Linked DNA regions of Homo sapiens: all the other regions are linked to region 2. Evidence: promoter capture Hi-C in 16 types of primary human blood cells and fetal thymus (Javierre and others, 2016). All regions are on one chromosome and are shown on one strand. The core of a region is centred on a gene start or on the middle of the fragment in contact, and the rest is flanking DNA. Distances in the headings are between cores, read along the strand shown.

Region 1 (4,405 bases), core at 40-2,539, 66 kb before region 2:
TGCAAGATGATAGTTATTCATTTAACCAGACTGACAATCAAAAGATGTCAAAAACAATAGAAAAAGTTACATGAATGTAAAAACCTTAACCCTTTTAAAGCTCAGTTTTCCTAAGTAATAAAAAACCTAATAAAGATAACTTGAAGCACAGGAAATTATCTTGGTAAAACAGAATCTTTGTTTCCTAGGCCAATTGCCCACAAGGCAAAGAAAAGAAAATCTCTTGCAATGTGATTGCTTTTTCTTTTGGTAAGTTCATTTAGATAACCTGAAAGTTAAACCTGATGAAAAGTGAACTGGCAGAACCAGAAAAATGTTACAGGAGTCAACAAAAAGGTTGAAGGAGAATGTTATCATCCCAACCAAGCAAAAACCATATCTTTTTAGGATAGAAAGAAGTAGAGCTGTATTTCCAACCTGAAACTAGAGAAAGAAGTTAGATAGATTCCAGGGAGAAATGTGGCAGAAATAGAAACTGTTTGTAATTGAGAGGATGGCTGTCAAAGAAACACATTTCAGAATTAATCAAAACCTCCTATAATTTTACTAAGAGCAAATCAACATTCTAAAGAAACCTTGCTATTCTAACACACGGGACAAAATCTGCATCAGTGTGTTTTTCACATCAAAGTTCAATCCCTAGTAAGACCCATAAATAATTTCCCTCCAATTGTAGACAAAGTGATGACACAGAAAATTTCCTCTATAAATGCTATTTTTATAAACCTTATCATGACTTACTCAGACCATTTATGATATGCTTGGACATTCTGCTTTTTCTTACACTTTCTCTTTCTTAAATAACCAATCATTTTACTCTAGGAGAAAAATTTGCCATACAACATTCTTTCTTATACAAAATAATCCTCTTCCTTTTCAACCTTCCTTACCAAAAATACATCATATACTTCTCATATGCTTACATATGGAATGGTCTTTTTCATCTCTAGTAGTTTAATCACACACATTAGTTATAATGTCAACTCTTAGAAACCCTAATTTTCAAAGAAAACCCAGGAAGTTATCAATTTTTCTTTTGAGACAGAGTCTCACTCTATCACCCAGGCTGGAGTGCAGTGGCACAATTTCAGCTCACCTCAACCTCTGCCTCCTGGGTTCAAGCTATTCTCATGTCTCAGCCTCCCAAGTAGCTGGGACTACAGGCACACACCACCACACCTGGCTAATTCTTATATTTTTAGGACAGATGGGGTTTTGCTGTGTTGGCCAGGGTAGTCTCAAACTCCTGACCTCAGGTGATCCACCTGCTTTGGCCTCCCAAAGTGCTGGGATTACAGACATGAGCCACCACACCCAGCTAGAAGTTATCAACTCTTAACCACCAATCACATACCAAAAATCCATGATACACATTTTACAATTTCCAGAGACATAGGCTTTCTAACAAAACAACTCTTTAATATGAAACAGGACATTTCTACTAACAGATTCAAATAACTTTTGTTTTTCTTGGAAATAAGAAGCCAGCAGTATATGAGCCTATACTTACATTCAACAACAAATATCTCAGCATTATATTTTATCTGTAAATGACCTAGACATTCAATGAACATCCATCATTTAATTTAGCTTAACTAAACTCTTAGGGTATACTTACCAAAGAGATTTAAAAAACCTTCCCAAGTAAACATATTACAAAACATAAACCATTATCAAAAGTTAATTTACAAAATTTATCCTGTCCACATTCACCAAATCCATTCACTCTCAAAGAATTATGCCTAGAAAATTTCCAGAGACATCAAACAAATCTAGCCATTATCCCAAGCTGTTTCTGTCAACCAATTGTACATTACTGCCTTCCAGGCAAATATTATAAAAGCAAGAACTCTAAAGTTAAATACAAGCACATTTTGCTGATAACTCAGAAGATGCAGCAATTTCCATCAAAACAACAATTTTTTTAAAATTATTTAACAATTATTTAACAATATTAGTCTAGTCCCATCTGCCAAAAGATGACTAAATCACATTAACTTGAAAAGCATTTCAGATTATTTGCTTAATCTATGAGTATTCTTTTTTTTTTCTTAAGAGATGGGCTCTCACTGTCACCCAGGCTGGAGTGCAGTGGCCCAATCATAGCTGACTGCAGCCTCAAAGTCCTGGCCAACACAGCAAAACCCCATCTGTCCTAAAAATACAAGAATTAGCCAGGTGTGGTGGTGTGTGCCTGTAGTCCCAGCTACTTGGGAGGCTGAGACACGAGAATAGCTTGAACCCAGGAGGCAGAGGTTGAGGTGAGCCGAGTGATCCTCCCACCCCAGCCTCCTGAGGAGCTTGGATTACAGGCATAAGCCATTGCACCTGGTGAGTACTCATTTATTTATAAAACAATTTGGAATTATAGACAATATATGAATAGATATGTAAACATATATATACACAAAAATACAGACACAAATAAAGATCTTATAGCTTTTGTTTTAAAACTTAGCTATGAGTTAAGTAAAACTGATTAGTTTAAAAAAACAATTTGATTCCAACTGCATTTCTGTAAATGGAACAGGTTGAAATTTATCTGTTCCACATGGCTGAAGCCTTTACCGAGCTTTAAAGAAAACAAGGTAGGAAATTTATACCTCAAGCACAGAAAGAATTTAAGCTTTTTCAAGAAGTCTGGGTGTGTTAGAAGAGGATTAAAATGGATATCAATGTAACATACAATTGCAGGAATTTCTCACAGGATTTTACAAGAAAACACACAGACAAGTTCAGAAAAAATTTAGAAATGTTTCCAAAATAACCAGCTGAAAGAGTGAAAGAGGCAGGAGAAAGTGAAGGATAAAGGACAGGTGGCAAAAAGATTTTCTGAAAGAAAGACTGGAAGAAGACAAGAAGACAGGAAGAGTGGCAGAAAGGGGAATGAAGACAGGAAGAGTGGCAGAAAGGGGAGTCTAGTGGAAGAAGTTTCTTCCAGAGGGTTTTTTGCAGTTTTAGTTTCAGGCTTAAAGCTCTAATCTCTCTTTCTATTTCATTAAGGCATTCACTCAATTTGGAATTATTTTCTCTCTCTCTCTCTCTCTCTCTCTCTCTCTCTCTCTCTCTCTGTCTTTCTGAGACAAGGTCTCACTCTGTCACCCAGGCTGGAGTGCAGTGGTGCAATCTCAGCTCATTGCAGCCTCCGCCTCCCTGGTTCAAGTGATTCTCATGCTTCAGCCTCCCAAGTAGCTGGGACTACAGGTGTGCGCCACCACGCCCAGCTAAGTTTTGTGTTTTCAGTAGAGATGGGGTTTCACCATGTTGCCCGGGCTGGTCTCAAACTCCTGACCTCAAGTGATCCACCCACCTTGTCCTCCCAAAGTGCTGGGATTACAGGCATGAGCCATCACATCCAGCCTGGAATTATTTTCTCTTAAGGGAGGCAATGGTAGCCTTTTGATTCTGTTTAGAATTTTCTAAAGGACCAACCCAAATACCCATCAATGATAGACTGGATAAACAAAATGTGATACATATACACTATGGAATATTATGCAGCCATAAAAAGGAATGAGATCATGTCTTTGCAGGGACATGGATGAAGTTGGAAACCATCATCCTCAGCAAACTAACACAGGAATATAGAAAACCAAATACCATATATTCTCATTCATAAGTGAGAGTTGATCAATGAAAACACATGAACACAGGGAGGGGAACAACACACACTGGGGCCTGTTGGGGGGTGGGGGCAAGTGGAGAGAGAGCATCAGGACAAATAGCTAATACATGTGGGGCTTAAAACGTAAATGATGGGTTGATAAATGCAGCAAACCATCATGGCACATGTATACCTATATAACAAACGTGCATTTTCTGCACATGTATCCCAGAACTGAAAGTAAAATAAAATAAAATAACTTTCAAAAGGGCCAGTTGCAGTGCAGAGAGCCCCTAGTCCTGGGAAACAAGGTGTAGCCACCCCCTTGCCTGTCATGTAATGCACATTCCTGGGAAACCTGGTGCTAAACCATTTGTAGATAACTTGCTTCAAAAAAAAAAAAAAAAAAAGGCCAATTGGGAAAAAAAGACTCCCTGTCTGCAGCCATACCACCTTGAATGTGACAGATCTCATCTGAAAAAAAAACTTTCCATTATCTCTGGCAGTTTTGGTGTTTTCTATTCCAATTGTGCACACAGGAACATTTGAATTTCAAAAGAGCTCCATTTCTGCCAAAGAAGTTTAGGATTATCCTAGGTAATTTTTTCCAGAGACTTAGCCAATTGTAACTCCCTGGATTATAATTTTTGCTTATAAAGCCAGCTGGAGTGCTGAAAAGTGGCTGATCAGCAGAGAAAATTTAAAATACAAGCTACCCATTGCACTGACTTAACAAAGACATCCCTTCCCTTCCAGTGTCCTTAGCGTGAATGTCTCCACAAAACTTTTGCACTGACCTGA
Region 2 (4,286 bases), core at 1,771-4,270:
TATATAAAATATTTAAATAAAATAATTATGGAAAATGTGATGAGGACTATCCTTGAGATATTTCAATTAGGTTGGTACAAATGGAAAGAAATAATGCTAAGTGTTGTCATTCAACTCTGCAGGGGCCCAGGGTTGAAGAGCTTCAGGTCCAGTCCTGGTTTTACCTCCAGCCTTGAACAAGTCACTTCCCTCTCTGGGCCTCAGGCTCTTCATCAGATTAGACTAAAACAGTTGTTTCCAGGCTGTATTTTGCAAGCCTTCTAGGGGGAGGAAAATGCAGGAGAAGCTCTCCTTTCATTTGTTTTACATATTGGGGTTCTACTGTAAACCCCTCTAAACACTCCTCAAGGACCCCTTCCAGCTCCTTCATGCAAGGATTCCCCAAGTCCTACTGCCTGGTGATTCGCACCACAGCCCCAGCCTCAGCAGCCCCAAGATACTCTGCAGGCGCATCCCACTGTCTCCTGAGGGCAGGTCTCAACACAAACATAAATCCTAGTCCACCCCTCCCTCTAGGGCTGGGGTCCCCACCCAAGCCATGCCCCTACCCAGTCTCCCTGCCTTTCTCCATTCAGGAGCAATGAGAAAGCATGAAAGAACTTCCTCTCCCATCCCCCTACCCACCCCAGTTCCCAGTGTTTCTTAGACCAGGATATTGCCAAGTGGCTTAGGCAAAATAATGGTCCCCCAAAGATGTCCCCATCCTCATTATCTCTGGAACCTGTGAATCTGCTGGATTACATGGGAAAGGGGAATTAAGGTTGCAGGTGGAATGGAGGTTGCTAATTAATTGTCCTTAAAGTTAGGGAGGAAGCTAACACGGGAAATTATCCTGGATTAACCTGGTGAGCCCAATATAATCACAAGTCCTAAGTGGAAAGAGGCAGAAACCGGAGAATCAGAGAGCTTGAGAAAAGTGTGAAAAAGACTGGGCCCAACCTTGCGGGCCTTGAAGATGGAGGTAGCAGGCCAGGAGCCAGGGGATGCCAGCTGCCTCTGGAAGCTGGAAAAGTCGATGAGACGGATTCTCCTCTACAGCCTCTAGAAGGAACACAGCTCTGCTGACTTTGATTTTAGATCAGTGAGGCCTATTTTAGACATTACTCCTCCACAACTACAAGATAATATGTTTGTATTGTCTTCAGACCCCACAGTTGTGTTATTTGTTACAATAGCAACAGGAAACTCACATGCTAAGTGAGGTATTAAGGCAAGTGGCTCAAGGCTGAATGTAGGGAACTGGCTGAGACAGCCTGCTGAAGACAGAGGCTCACTCTTGCTGAATTATTAATTAATTAGCTCACTCAAATCTATTTATTCAGTACCTTACTAGGTGCCAGACATTATTCTAGGTACTAAGGATGTACAGTAAATAAAAGGGACAAAAATCCTTGTCCCCAGGAAGCTTTATTCTAGCAGAGGAAACAGACAATAAATAAGTAAAATCTATTGTACATTGACTAGTGATAAGTGCTAAGGAGAAGAATCAAGCAGGGAGTTACTGTCTAGATCCCCCTGGCTCCAGGGCTCTGTTGCCCTGACCTGCGCATGGGCTCCAGACTAGTTCCTTTAGGAGGGAGGACTTCCTCTAGTCTGCTGCTTCTGCAACTCAGCCATCCTGTTCCTCCTGTTCCTGGGCCCACACCCTGTGTGCTGGAAGTGCATGAGGCAGGTCCCCACACAGTCCTGGGCCAGCCCCAGTCCACAGCTTCCTTTCCCAATAGGAGCAGCCACTGTGACATACATACTTGCCCTGAAGTCAAATCAACACCCACCATGATGTCAAGAAGAGACCAGATCTCTTTCTCCCCTGCCTGACATAGTCAAGGAGACAAACTGCACCCACTCATGGGATCCAGCCTCCTGTCTCATTCCCCCTCCCCCATCCTGATCCCAACAAGAAATGTGTTTGTATTTCCCCAGGAGCTGATGGTTAGGACTGCTGAAACATCAGAGAGGCACATCCTTTTTTTTTCTTTTTTTTCTTTTTGAGAGGGATTCTTGCTCTGTCACGAGGCTGGAGTGCAGTGGCGCAATCTTGGCTCACTGCAACCTCCGCCTCCCGGGTTCAAGTGATTCTCCTGCCTCAGCCTCCTGAGTAGCTGGGACTACAGGCACGTGCCACCACACCCAGGTAATTTTTATACTTTTTAGTAGAGATGGGGTTTCACCATGTTGGCCGGGATGGTCTCGATCTCTTGACCTCATGATCCTCCCACTTCGGCCTTCCAAAGTGCTGGGCTCATAGGCGTGAGCCACCACGCCCAGCCAGGCACGTCCATTTTTAGAGGTTTGGACACACAGAACACATCTTCCCCCCTCGCTTCCTATTGAGACCTCTTTCCCGTTTCTCTGAGTTTCCAGGACAGAAAACTTCCTTGGGAAATCACCCCTTCATGTGAACAGGCCAAACCATGCAGTGGCTTCCAATCAGATTGAGGCAGGGGCCTTTCCCTACATCACCCCTCCCACCCAATCTGGACATCAGGGTCTCTGATACTGTCAGATGCTTCGGGAGAGAGGAAGAGGAAGAAGGAGAAACCAAGAAAGCCAAAGAATGTAATTCGCCCCACCTTGTTCGCCCACTTTGTCCCTCACCCACTGGGCCGCCGCCTTGATGCTTTCGCTCTTGGTGACATCCAGTAGGGTGGTCTGCAGCCGATAGGAGGTATCCCGCTGAAGTTTCTGGGATCCCTCCTCAGTGAAGCAAGCAGCCAGCACCTGCATGCCCCGATCAACCAGCTGTTTGGCCAGCAGGTTCCCGAAGCCAGAGTCACAGCCTGTGATGAAGACGTACTTCTCTGAGAGGTTGCCAACCAGATTGCAGTTCTTGAACCAGCGATACATAAATGAGAGGTCTGTGAGGGCCGCCATAGGGCAAGGGGAATGTGATGGCCAAGAGGGACTGGGCTCAGGAGACAGCAGGGAAGAAGCTGGTCCTCTGAGCCCTAGCAGGCAGTCTGCAGGAAACCACCTGGAAGAAGAACTCTCCTTCCTCCCACAGCTTGCAACAAATCTAGGTCCCTGGGTGAGCCACGCTGTAATTTTTATAGGTGGATGCATCACCACAGCAATTAGCCCAGATGCAAGAAATTCAAGTCCAACCTGAAGCCTTGTCACCTCTGACAGCCCTGGTAGCTGCCTCCCTCTCTCCCCCTGCCCTGATGGGTAAAGCTGCCAAGAATTGGAAATAATCCACTTGTAATGTTGGTGATGAGTGGTGGCTCACCCAGGCGGTGTAAGGCAGGCAAATGAAAGATGAGGACTCACCCCAGACAGCTCCCCTAGAAATCCTGTCCCCACCCTGCCCCCAACCCAGCCTGGGGATTTTGGTCTCCAGGGATCAAAATCATTTGTCGTGAGTGCAGGTATGTAAATAAGTTTATTTTCAGGGAAAATACTCAAGACAAATTTATTAATGTAAAACAAACAACATTGGTTCTGTACCTTCCAAACCCCAAGAGAAACAAGTCGCAGGTCATCAGCTCTCTGGAATTCTTAGGTAAGTCTCCATCATGAGAGAGGATGAAAAGCAATGGATTTCTCCTAGGGTGGATGTACCTCCATTGTCCTGAGGCTAGAGGCAGCAGGGCCCTCCTATAGGGGAGGCTGGCATGTGAAGCTTAGCCACCAGAAAGCAGAAAGACCTGGGGGACTCAGGCCTGACACCCTGTGGGGGTCATACTCAGGTCACCAGTAAGCAGCCCTGGGCAAGATGATGAGGAGGGATCATGAGTTCACTGGGCAGCTGAGGGAATTGTCTGGGCAGAGGCCTTGACTGTAAGAGGGGATGAGATATAGGAGGAGCAGAGAACTGGGGCCAGAGACATAGAAAATTCTCAGGGTCGGGACTTGGAGGAGAAACAGAGATTCTAGGCAATTTAGCAAATAATTTACAGAAAGCTAAGAGGTAAGGTGGTAAAGGAAAGGAAATAAGGAAACCAGAGGTGTGAGTAGTGAGGGGCCACACCCAGAATTGCATAAGATGCAGGGAATGATGCTGGAGCCTCTGTGGTTCTTTGGATCAACATCTAGGGTCACCATTCCTTGGGATGAGCCTGGTCCTAGCTCACACCTTCATGGCTTAGCGAGTCTGACACAGAAATGGGACCACAAAGTTCTCTAGTGTGAAGGGACAAAGGATGTATCTCTGTGATCCACCATTTGCCAAGTCTGACCAGCGTGGAATCACATAAAGCAGGTGTCACCCTGGGAAAGCCCCGCAGGGTTTGGCCGTTCCTTAACAAAGTAGGGGAGGGGGCCAGATTATGAACCCACCCCCAAAG
Region 3 (3,969 bases), core at 135-2,634, 110 kb before region 2:
TTTTTTTGACGGAGTCTTGTTCTGTCACCCAGGCTGGAGTGCAATGGCGCTATCTCGGCTCACTGCAACCTCCACCTCCCAGGTTCAAGCAATCCTCTTGCCTCAGCCTCCCGAGTATCTGGGATTACAGGCGTGTGCCACCACGCCCAGCTAGTTTTTGTATTATTAGTAGAGATGGGGTTTCACCATGTTGGCCAGGCTGGTCTCGAACTCCTGATCTCAGGTGATCCACCTGCCTCAGCCTCCCAAAGTGCTGGGATTACAGGCCTGAGCCACCGTGCCCGGCCCAGAACAATTTTCATATAATCTATTGACTTGCCTGCCCTAAGACAAAGGCCGTTGTTTTGAGGTAGCCTTAGTTTACTTTCCAAGTTCCATCTGCTTTTCCACTGGAGTTCAGAGGTCTTTCATGGCCAGCCCATTCTGCCATCCATGACCTTTGATGGAGCCTGTTCTCAGCTCAAGGCAATCTCCAGAAACTGAAGAACATGACCTTTCTAAATGCAAGTAAGAATTCGTCAAAGAAACTTGTGCTGGTTAAAGCTTAAGATAACCGGATAGCCAATAAATTCAGAGATAGAGGCATGACTACTTGGGACAGGCTTTTAAGAAAACTGTGATTATATTTCTTTGGCAAAATTAAAACTTGATGGAAACTCAGGGAACATTTTGTCTAACCTAGATAATAAAAGCAAAGTCATATCTTTTCCTTGTTTAAATGACATGGGGGGGGGCTGGGTTGGATGAGAGTGAACTGGGAGGACACAGAGATCTGTATTTGGAACATGAGAAAATGTGCTAGGCAATCTGAAACAATATTGATCATTACTCTTTTAGCTACATCTTATAAGTTGATTACTTTTTACAGAAATAGAATTTTGTCTAGACTATTGGATAAGCTCTAGGAAAAAAAGTTGATTTCCCACATGAATGCTTGGGATCATCAATTTTCATTTATGCTTTTGATCAAATACTATTTGGCTAATACATTCATAGGGTCCTCTAGTTTTCCCAACCTTTTTATCTATCCCGACTAAGAAATACAGAGTGCCTTGACCACTCTGTGACCTGGCCAGTTGCATGTTTTTTTGCAGGGTTAAGTCAGGTCCTTGAACATTCCCAGGCTCTGGTAAACATGTTTAGGTTGTTGTCCAGAACACTGAAAGAAACTAGCCCCAGCCCTTAACCAAACTCCTCAAACCCTCATATAAACTCCATAACACAACCCCCTTATTGCAGACATAGCTAGGTGGAACATCTCTTTCGCTTGCTGTTGAGAGGATTCCTGCAGCCCCTTTTGTAAGTAAGTTCCCCTGATAAATACTTTAGACTAATTACCCTGGTGTTTAGTGCTTCTCTCTTTGGAATCTCAACCAGCCCCATCTCCAAATGGTTTACAGATAATCCTTCTTGGGAATTTCCCTGCTACAGACTTTGGGGCTCCAGTTTTGGTTTCGGCCTGGACAAAACAACACTGCAGGAATAGTTTAAGGTATTTGCCTTTTGTGATAGTGTCCATTATAATATTATTTTCTTATTACTATTAATTTTTTTTTTTTTAGAGGCAGAGTCATCCAGGCTTCAGTGCAGCAGTGGCGATCACAGCTCACTGCAGCCTCAAACTCCTGGGCTTAAGTGATCTGCTCACCTCAGCCTCCTGAGCAGATGGGACTACAGGTGTACTACCACATCTGACTAATTTAAAATTTTTTTTATAGAGATGGTGTCTCCCTCTGTTGCCCAGGCTGGTCTCAAACTTCAGGGCTCTAGGGATCCTCCTGCCTTGGCCTCTCAAAGTGTTGGGAGTACAGGTGTGAGCCACTGCACTTGGCCTATTATTACTATTATAATTATTTTTCAACCACCTGGTAAATTTGCGAGGGTTGTTTTGTTAAGTAAATAAATCAAAATCTTCCCTGGAAATTTAAGGGAGAAATGTCGAGGAAGAAGTTCATGTCATTTGAGGATAATTGGCTGCACAGTTACTCTTTTGCAGAGGAAGGCATGTGTTTGTGATGGACATAGCAGCTGTCAATATGCCCCCACTATCAGAGGGTATACCAAACCTGCAAACTCTTTGTTTCGGCAGCAAAATATATTAACAAAAATTCAGGAGTGGACAGAAGTTTCTAATTTTGATGTAGTCCAATGTGTCCATTTTTTTTCCTCTTGTTGCCTGTGCTTTCAGTGTCATATCCAAGAAATCACTGCCAAATCCAACGTCATGAAGCTTTCTCCCTGTTTTTTTGTTTTTTGAGACAGGGTCTTGCTCTGTTGCCCAGGTTGGAGTGCAGTGGCATGATCAGAGCTCACTGCAACCTCTGCCTCCTGGGCTCAAACAATCCTCCCTCCTCAGCCTCCCTAGTAGCTGGAACTACAGGTGCATGCCACCATGCCTGGCTAATTTTTGTATTTTTTGTAGAGATGGGGTCTTGCCATGTTGCCCAGGCAGGTCTCCAATTCCTGGGCTCAAGTGATCCACCTGCTGTGGCCTCCCAAAGTGTTGGGACTACATGTGTGAGCCACCACACTCGGCCATCTCCCTGTATTTTCTTCTAGGAGTTTTATAGTTTTAGTTCTTAAATTTAGGTCTTTGATCTATTTTGAGTTAATTTTTGCATATAGTGTAAGGTACAGGTCTAACTTCATTCTTTTGCAGGTGAATATTCAGTTTTCCCGTTACCATTTGTTGAAAAGATTGTCCTTTCCCCATTGAATGGTCTTGGCACCCTCGTTAAAAATCATTTGACCATATATGCAAGGGTTTATTTCTGTGTTATCTATTCTATTCCGTTGGTCTAGGTATCTGTCTTTATGTCAGTAACACACTGGTTTGATTATCATAGCTTTGTAGTAAGTTTTGAAATCAGGAAGTGAGAGATTGCCATCTTTGTTGTTCTTTTCAACATTGTTTTGGTTATTTGGGGTCATTTGATATTCCAAATGAATTTTAGAATGGATTTTTAAAATTTATGTAAAAATATTGTTGGGATTTTGATAGGGATTGCATTGACTCCGTAGATCACTTTTGGTGGTATTAATATCTTTACAATCTTAAGTCTTCCAATTCATGAATATGGAGTGCTTTCTGTTTATTTGCATCTTTTTTGTTGTTGTTGAGATGGAGTCTTCCTCCTTCGCCCAGCTGGAGTACAGTGATGCAATCTTGGCTCATTGCAGCCTCTGCCTCCCAGGTCCAAACGATTCTCCTGCCTCAGCCTCCCAAGTAGCTGGGATTACAGGTGCACACCACCACGCCCAGCTAATTTTTTGTATTTTTAGTAGAGATGGGGTTTCACCATATTGGCCAGGCTGGTCTCGAATTCCTGACCTCAGGTGATCCACCCGCCTTGGCCTCCTAAAGTGCTGCAATTACAGGCGTGAGCCACCATGCCTGGCCTGAGCCACTACCATGCGTGGCCTTTTTTTTTTTTTTTTTTAGAGACAGGGTGTCCTCTGTTGCCCAGGCTGGGGTGCAGTGGCACAATCATAGCTCACTGCAGCCTTGAACTCCTGGGCTCAAGTGATCCTCCTGCCTCAGCTTCCCAAGCAGCTGGGACTACAGGCATGAACCACCATACCTGTCCCAATTTTTGTGCCTTTTAAAATTTCTTTCTGCAACATTTTGTGGTTTTTAGTGTACAAGTATTTTGCTGCCTTGATGAAGTTTATGCCTTAGTATTTTATTCTTCTTGATGCTATTGTAAATGGAATTTAAAAAAATTTCCCTTTTGGATTGTTCATTGATAATGTATAGAAATGCAGTTGATTTTTGTGTGTTGCTTTTGTATCCTGCAACTTTGTAGAATTTGCGTATTAATCTAACAGGTGTGTGTGTGTGTGTGTGTGTGTGTGTATGTGTGTAACCTTTAAGGTTTTCTATGTATAAGATAATCTCATCCATGGACAGAGATCATTATTTCTTTCCAGTGTGGTGGCCTTTTATTTCTTTTTCTTGATTGATGGCTA

Evidence for each region. The method cuts DNA at HindIII sites, captures the fragments that hold promoters and counts their contacts. A CHiCAGO score of 5 or more calls a contact.
Region 1: a fragment that was not itself captured here is called in contact with the fragment with the promoter of SDR9C7 in region 2 in 2 of 17 cell types (M2 macrophages and erythroblasts); the score reaches 5.6 in M2 macrophages.
Region 3: a contact is called between a fragment that was not itself captured here and the fragment with the promoter of SDR9C7 in region 2, in 3 of 17 cell types (erythroblasts, endothelial precursors and M1 macrophages). The highest score is 7.1, in erythroblasts.

Annotation. Positions count from the first base shown.
Region 1 is chr12:56,866,687-56,871,091 of GRCh38, forward strand. No RefSeq gene overlaps it. Among named protein-coding and RNA genes, the nearest start is that of SDR9C7, 66 kb to the right of the region's middle. The HindIII fragment of the contact is 2,669 bases long and covers 1-2,624 here.
Region 2 is chr12:56,931,388-56,935,673 of GRCh38, forward strand. SDR9C7 (short chain dehydrogenase/reductase family 9C member 7) reads right to left here and starts at 3,021. Exons shown (of 4, transcript NM_148897.3): 1 at 2,574-3,021. The coding sequence starts at 2,874. The HindIII fragment of the contact is 2,217 bases long and covers 1,404-3,620 here.
Region 3 is chr12:56,823,198-56,827,166 of GRCh38, forward strand. No RefSeq gene overlaps it. Among named protein-coding and RNA genes, the nearest start is that of HSD17B6, 62 kb to the left of the region's middle. The HindIII fragment of the contact is 1,687 bases long and covers 542-2,228 here.